2 separate regions of the Homo sapiens genome follow, and region 1 is linked to region 2. The links are contacts of gene promoters, found by promoter capture Hi-C in blood cells and fetal thymus (Javierre and others, 2016). All regions are on one chromosome and are shown on one strand. The core of a region is centred on a gene start or on the middle of the fragment in contact, and the rest is flanking DNA. Distances in the headings are between cores, read along the strand shown.

The links. The method cuts DNA at HindIII sites, captures the fragments that hold promoters and counts their contacts. A CHiCAGO score of 5 or more calls a contact.
Region 1: the fragment with the promoter of AMT here is called in contact with a fragment that was not itself captured in region 2 in 3 of 17 cell types (M0 macrophages, M1 macrophages and M2 macrophages); the score reaches 6.9 in M0 macrophages.

What each region holds. Positions count from the first base shown.
Region 1 is chr3:49,420,771-49,424,737 of GRCh38, forward strand. AMT (aminomethyltransferase) reads right to left here and starts at 1,703. Exons shown (of 9, transcript NM_000481.4): 1 at 1,591-1,703; 2 at 1,334-1,501; 3 at 722-802. The coding sequence starts at 1,680. NICN1 (nicolin 1, tubulin polyglutamylase complex subunit) reads right to left here. Exons shown (of 6, transcript NM_032316.3): 6 at 1,563-3,967. RefSeq lists enhancers at 578-1,330, 1,331-2,084. The HindIII fragment of the contact is 5,136 bases long and covers 1-3,967 here.
Region 2 is chr3:49,247,376-49,251,198 of GRCh38, forward strand. All of the region lies in intron 6 of IHO1 (interactor of HORMAD1 1), which reads left to right. Among named protein-coding and RNA genes, the nearest start is that of MIR4271, 25 kb to the right of the region's middle. RefSeq lists an enhancer at 1,743-1,792. The HindIII fragment of the contact is 941 bases long and covers 1,594-2,534 here.

The sequences.
Region 1 (3,967 bases), core at 453-2,952, 170 kb after region 2:
CTTAGCCTCCCCACTGGATGGACAAAAAGCCTGAGGTTGAGGGGGTCACATGAATCACCTGGGGATCTTGTTAAAATGAAGGTTCTGATTCAGCAGGTCTGCAGCAGTGCCTGAGACTATATTCCTAACAAGCTCCAAAGATGCTGGTTTAGAGACCACACTTTGTTGTTGTTATTTTTCTTTTTAGACTGAGTCTCACTCTGTTGCCCAGGCCAGAGTGCAGTGGTGCAACCTCAGCTTGCTGCAACCTCAGCCTCCCGAGTAGCTGGGACTACAAGCACGCGCCACCACGCCCGGCTAATTTTTGTGTTTTTAGTAGAAACGAGGTTTTGCCATGTTGGCCAGGCTGGTCTCGAACTCCTGACCTCAGGTGATCCACCCGCCTTGGCCTCCCCAAGTGCCAGGATTACAGGTGTTTGAGTCACGTCGCCTGGCCAGGGACCACATGTTGAATAGAGAGGGGTTAAGCAGAAGGGATGGCCAGAGAGCAGCATATTAACCTTGGTTTCTGGCCTCCTAGCCTGATGTAGTAAGACTGGGATATTCCCCTCCCTACAAATGTCTGTGTCTCTGGAAATGACTCAGGGATTCTGTCCAAGACTGCAAGCCCTGAGAAGCTGTGTTTGACTCATCTCTGTGCCCCTAAGCCTGAGGTAGGGACTCAGCCCATTTGCTGGCTCATGACTAAGAAAACTCATAGAGCAGAAATAAAAGGGCCCACCTGGTTTGGTCTTAGCTCTGCAATGTCTCCAACCACTAGACTCTCCATCAGCTTCACCCGGTCACTACCAAGTATCTTGGTCTGGGGAAGAGATTGAAAGCCTCAGGCCATTGCAACAGCTACAATCCAAAAGGCTACTAAGCAAGGATGCATCCTCCCTGCCATCCACAGTGCAGTCCAGCCCACCCAAAGTGACTAACCAGTCTTTTGGTTCTACACGTGGCAAAGGACCACCTTCTGATTTCCTGACCTCCCCCAGTCACTCTGTGTGGGGGGACTGCCAGGGAACTGGACAGGACCTAGCACCTTCCTGAAATAACCCCTTTTCAAACCAACATCCAGCCCAATACATGAGAGTGGGTGTCAGCCCTGGAAAACCCGGGACATTAAGGCACACCATTTAATGGGGGCAAGCTAGAAGGATGAGATGATGAGACCCTCTGAGCTCATTTCCTTGGGGCCATTGACCTATCCATGACACCCCCATGACCTCTAGCTCTTCTGAGAAGGCTGTCCTTGGAATCCAGTTCACAGCAAACAAAGCCAAGGAGTGGACCACTGTAAACAGGGAGGAAGGCCTGATCAGATGGCCAGTGTGCTCCCCTGGCTCACCTGCAGCATATGAGACACGTCAAAGAGCGAGCAGTGCTGGCGTGTGTGCAGGTGCGAGTCAGTGTGACTGTCCCGGTACTGCACTGGCAGACTCCAACCCGCAAACGCCACCATTTTCCCGCCGTGGGCCAGGTGGAAGTCATAGAGCGGTGTCCTGCGGAGCACCTCCTGTGGGCGGCTGGGCTTAGTGCCACCAGGGCCCTAGCCCCCAGCCGCTTCCCTCCCCCACCCTCCAAGATCAGCACCCTCTATCCCACCTGTGCGCAACTAAGTGGACGACACAAGGCCGGGGGGAATGCCTGCAGGCGAAAGCCCAGACGGGCCACCACACTTACAGCCCTCTGCATCGTCGCCTGCAACGAGTGCAGACGGCGCACAGAGGCCACCACACTGCCAGGCACGCCGGGAGATGTAGTCCAGGCCTCTGCTCGGACAGGTCTCTCTCCGGAGCAAAGGATCTGAAGGGGGCGTGGGCAGCCCCAAGGGCAGGCTGGGATTTAGAGCAGAGAATGCAGGAACCCGCAACCACAGGGAAGAAGCCTCCAGCTCTTTCGGCTGACTCTTCAGGGCAGCTCGGGCAATCCAGAGCTGATTGGGCTGCCCAGAACAAAGCTAGGGGCTAGACCGCCCCCTGCAGAACCGCCCTGTCTCCAGAGGGTCAAAGTTCTGGAAAGGGCTGAAAGGTCTGAATCATACCTTTAGGACCTCAAGAGAGTAAGGTCAAGTGGGGGTGGGGAAGGTGGGCCAGCCTGGCAGGTAGGCAGCACCACAGTAGTCTGTCCTCATGTGGACCCCTAGTTCCACAGCTCTCCCACCAGGCAGACACAGGCAGCCAGCAGTCATGCATTCCACAAGTATTTATTGATCTTACTGCATACCAGGCCCTCAGATGGGGACACAGCCACGAATGAAGCATGGTCCCTGCTACCACAAGGTCCTCTTCACTTACACACACACTGAGGACTACTGCTTCGTCACGCTTTCCGAAGCAGCTGAGTGGGGCTATGTAAGTGACCTTGCAGATGAAGTCGCCACCTGCAAGAACTCACAGGTGAGAACAGAGGGTGGCCACCAAAAGGTCACTGAACTCCCCCGAGAAAACTGTTGAGCCACACACATGTCCAACTTTCCAGGTCCAAGACATACTGCAGTACTGCTTTGTAATAGCCACCAGGTGCAAAGCCAGGAAGAACCAGAGGGAAACAGGTTTTTCTCACATGAGGGAAGAGCAGCCTGCATCACTTAATGGTTGGACTGAGTTAATGCAGGACTTAGGCCTCTTAAAAGGCAACAATGAGAACCCTTACTTGGACCCACTCCCCACCACGGTTGATCTCTCATTATGCTGAGCATATCTCTTGGAAAGGGGCAGGGCGGGCGCGGTGGCTCATGCCTGTAATCCCAGCACTTTGGAAGGCCAAGGCAGGCAGATCACCTGAGGTCAGGTGTTTGAGACCAGCCTGACCAACATGGAGAAACCCCATCTCTACTACAAATACAAAATTAGCCAGGCATGGTGATGCATGACTGTAATCCCAGCTACTCGGGAGACTGAGGCAGGAGAATTGCTTGAACCTGGGAGGCGGAGGTTGCAGTTAGCCAAGATTGCACTATTGCACTCCAGCCTGGGCAACAAGAGCAAAACTCAACCTCAAAAAAAACAACAAAAAAGGAGAGGGGCAACTGGGAGAAAGGATAGAGATGTGCTTTGGGCTATGTCAGATGGCAGAAGGGTCCCAGTTCTTTTTTTTTTGTTTGTTTGTTTAAGATGGAGTTTCGCTCTTCTTGCCCAGGCTGGAGTGCAATGGCATGATCTCAGGTCCGCAACCTCCACTTCCCGGGTTCAAGAGATTCTCCTGCCTCAGCCTCCCAAGTAGCTGGGATTACAGGTGCCTACCACCACGCCCAGCTAATTTTTTGTATTTTTAGTAGAGACGGGGTTTCTCCAGGTTGGTCAGGCTGGTCTTGAACTCCTGACCTCAGGTGATCCGCCTGCCTGGGCCTCCCAAAGTGCTGGGATTACAGGCGTGAGCCACTGCACCCTGCCTAGAAGGGTCCCAGTTCTTATGCTCAGGCCCTGGTTTTGCTAGAGACACGTGCCCAGGCCCTATGGGCACACCCACTTGAACATATATTCAGGAGCCAGCTCAGAAACCAAGAGACTCAGGCTGCCCAAATCTTCAGGTTTCCTTCCTAGGCAGGCAGCAGAAGAGTTCAGACAGGAAATTTCTCTCTGTGGCATAACACAAATGGAAAGAAAACCACTAGGGGACACACAGGAAGAAATAAGGTTTCTGTTTCTTCCTCAAGTGTCCCAAGTGCCATGGCAGCAATGGCCTTCCAGGTCCATACATGGAGCAGGTTTTAGTAGGTCAGCCCAGCCCAACTGCACTGACATGAGGGAGCAGGCAGAAGACAGGAATGTGCATGTTGCCAGAAGGGGCAGAGGGCACTCAGGGATTCTCAGTAAGTACAACTGACTGGAGTGTTTTTGGGTAGAAGGAAGAATTGAGTTGCAGCCAGGCGAAGACAGAGCACCCCCATGCCAGGAGCTCATGCTGAAGTAACACGGTAAGCCCCTGAGAATCCTGAATCTGTGAATGTGGCCCAGACAGAACAGGCATGCAGGCAACA
Region 2 (3,823 bases), core at 814-3,313:
GCATGCCACCACACCTGGCTATTTTTTTGTATTTTTACTAGAGACAAGGTTTCATCATGTTGGCCAGGCTGGTTTTGAACTCCTGACCTCAGGTGATCAGCCTGTTTCGGCCTCCCAAAGTGCTGGGATTATAGGCGTGAGACACCACGCCCAGCCTAATCCCAGCACTTTGGGAGGCCAAGGTGGGTGGATTGCTTGAGTCCAGGAGTTTGAGACCAGCCTGGGAAACATAAGGAGACTTTGTGTCTACAAAAAATAAACAAAACCAGCAGGGCATGGGACATATGCCTGTAGTCCCAGGTACTAGGGAGGGTGAGGTGGGAGGATCGCTTGAGTCTGGGACGTCGAAGCTGCTGTGAGCCAAGATGGTGCCACTGCACTCCAGCCTGGGAGCTAGAGCAAGACCCTGTCTCTAAACACTAAAACTAAAACTAAATAAATAAAATGAAAAAAAAAAATAGATTCAAGGGTGGGCGTGGTGGTTCATGTCTGTAATTCCAGCACTTTGGGAGGCCAAGGCAGGTGAATCACTTGAGGTCAAGAGTTTGAGACCAGTCTGTCCAACATGGTGAAAACCCGTCTCTACTAAAAATACATAAATTAGCCATGCGTGATGGCTGGAGCCTGTAATTCCAGCTACTTGGGAGGCTGAGACAGGAGAATCGTTTGAACCTGGGAGGTGGAGGTTGTAGTGAGCCGAGATGGCGCCACTGCACTCCAGCCTGGACGATAGAGTGAGACTCCATCTCAAAAAAAAAAAAAAAAGGCCAGGTGTGGTGGCTCACGCCTGTAATCCCAGCACTTTGGGAGGCCAAGGCGGGCAGATCACGGGGTCAGGAGATCAAGACCATCTTGGCTAACACGGTGAAACCCCATGTCTACTAAAAATACAAAAAATTAGCTGGGCGTGGTGGCGGGCACCTGTAGTCCCAGCTACTCAGGAGGCTGAGGCAGAATGACGTGAACCCAGGATGGGGAGGTTGCAGTGAGCCGAGATCCTGCCACTGCACTCCAGCCTGGGCGATAGAACCAGACTCTCTCAAAAACAAAACAAAACAAAACAAAACAAAAGCCCAGGCACAGTGACTCACACTTGTAATCCCAGCACTTTGGGAGGCCGAGGTGGGTGGATCACTTGAGGTCAGGAGTTTGAGACCAGCCTGACCAATATGGTGAAAACCCATCTCTACTAAAAAAAAAATACAAAATTAGCCAGGCGTGCTGGTGCAGGCCTTTAATCCTAGCTACTTGGGAGGCAGGAGAATCACTTGAACCTGGGAGGCAGAGGTTTCAGTGAGCTGAGATTGCGCCATAGCACTCCAGCCTGGGCAACAAGAGCGAAACTCTGTCTCAAAAAAGAAAAAGAAAGAAAAAAGACTCAGTAACAGACACAGCAGTATCACATGAATTAGGACAGGTCATTCTTGAAAATGAGCACAAGTAGCCTATCCAGAATAATTCTCTTTCTTGGTAGGAAATGATGATGAGCAGAAAATTAATCATTGAGAGAGGAACCAGACAAATCCTCTAGCATATGGCCAGGTCCAGTCCAGCTATTCTAGAGCATTGAACTCCACCTCAGTGCATTCTGCAAGCTTTCAGTCTCTACTCATGTGCTCATCAGGGAATAGGGAAGTAAAGATACTGTGTGAAAGTGCTGTCTGTGTTGTTATGTAATTGGTGCCTTCACAGATGAGGTCATTAAATATTTTCCCAGTCAGCCTGCCCAGCCAGAAGGGTCACTGTGGCCATCTAATCTAACTCTTCCTGTTCTTCAGCTGAGGACACTAAGGACCACAGTAATAAAGTTAATTACCAAAGCCTCTTGTATACTACTTTACCTCATATGTTAAGTCTGGTGATAAATTATAAAAAGAACTAGAAGAAAACATGGACAACATTTTTTTTTTTTTGAGATGGAGTTTCGCTCTGTCACCCAGGCTGAAGTGCAGTGGCGTGATCTTGGCTCACTGCAGCCTCTGCCTCCCGGGTTCAAGCGATTCTCCTGCCTCAGCCTCCCAAGTAGCTGGGACTATAGGCACACACCACCACGCCCAGCTAAATTTTATATTTTTAGTAGAGACAAGGTTTCACCATGTTAGCCAGGATGGTCTCAAACTCTTGACCTCATATCCACCTACCTCAGCCTCCCAAAGTGCTGAGATTATAGGTGTAAGCCACCACGCCCGGCCATGGACAACATTTTTATAATTTTAGAATGGGAAAAGCCTTTCTAAGCAAAATAGATATAATTGTTAAGAAGAGTGAGATCCATCTATATGAATATGGTAGAATGGAAATATCTGTTCATTGTTAAATTAAAACAACAAAAAGGTGCTCTTCGCGTGCTCCAGGATACATCTTGTTGGAAAGTGTGACCAGCCAGTGAAAACTGGGAAGAGTATCCCTAAAAAAGTTGGAGGTGGTCTCATCTTATACAAGGAGGCTGCCAGATCTTTTGTTAGGCTCTCATCAGCACCTGAGGGAGAATAAAACTACAGAGTAAAAGGAAAATCACTGGCCATCCGGGGAAAAGCTTGCATCACAATCTGATCTCATCTCAATTGAGGCCTTACCAAGTTGCTAAAATAAAAACAAATTGTTTAAAAATCATCTTAACAGGAAAACAGATATTGTCCAGAATATGGAAATGGATTTTAAATGGCATTTTTACATAAAAGCTAAAAATATCTAATGTTTATAGTCAAAGCAAAAATGAAATAAATACTCTTCTAGACACACATACACAAACAAACACAGGACCTATAATGTATATACAGATATGCACACGTATTAATGTAAAATTCCAGAAACCGATGATAATGTTAAATCCAGGAAGAGAGACCAAGGTTTGCAGAGGAGAGATTCAATCATTTTTCAATGTATGCCTTTTTATACTATTATGGTTTTCAGTTATTTTCATAACTAAATTTTTTTAAAAGAAAAAATATGGATAGACTTTGAATGTAATGAGTTTGATACAAAAGCTCCTATAAAAGAGAAGACGCCAAACATATGTTGCCCTGGGGACAAGAACTGAATGTATGGGACCTCAGATGGATGCTTTCTGAGCACTTAATCCAGAATCAAACACTTTGCTTGCCTTTCTCATGCTCTGCTTTTGTGAGGGTCAGTAATGCCCACTGTTGCTAAGAAACATTACTATTTAGGAACTTCTCTATGGAAGGATAATTACATTTGCTCTCTACTATAAATATCTACATGGATGTCTGAAGAATATTTGACTAATTGGGTTTAGGAGCAGGAATCCAATACCTAAGTAAATAGCCTCTTTCTAATTGATTGACACATGGAATTGAACTTGTACCTGTGGTGAGAAATATGGGAAAATTTGCTTTCTAAAAAATTCTTTGGGCCAGACACAGCAGCTCACGCCTGTAATCCCAGCACTTTGGGAGGCCGAGGCGGGCAGATCACAAGATCAGAAGTAGGAGACCAGCCTGACCAACATGGTAAAACCCCGTCTCTACTACAAATACAAAAATTAGCCGGGCGTGGTGGCGCATGCCTCCAGCTACTCAGGAGGCTGAGGCAGGAGAATCGCTTGAACCCTGGAGGCAGAGGTTGCGGTGAGCCAAGATCGCGCCACTGCACTCCAGCCTGGGCGACAGAGTAAGACTCCATCTCAAAAAAATAAAAAAACTATGCTAGATTAAATTGTTTCATGTTAGTTTAGCGGTTCCATTTTCACGTCTCAATATATTTTACTTAGTTTTTGTTTGTTGGTTGGTTGGTTTGTTTTGAGACAGAGTCTCTCTCTGTCACACAGGCTGGAGTGCAGTGGTGCGATCTCAGCTCACTG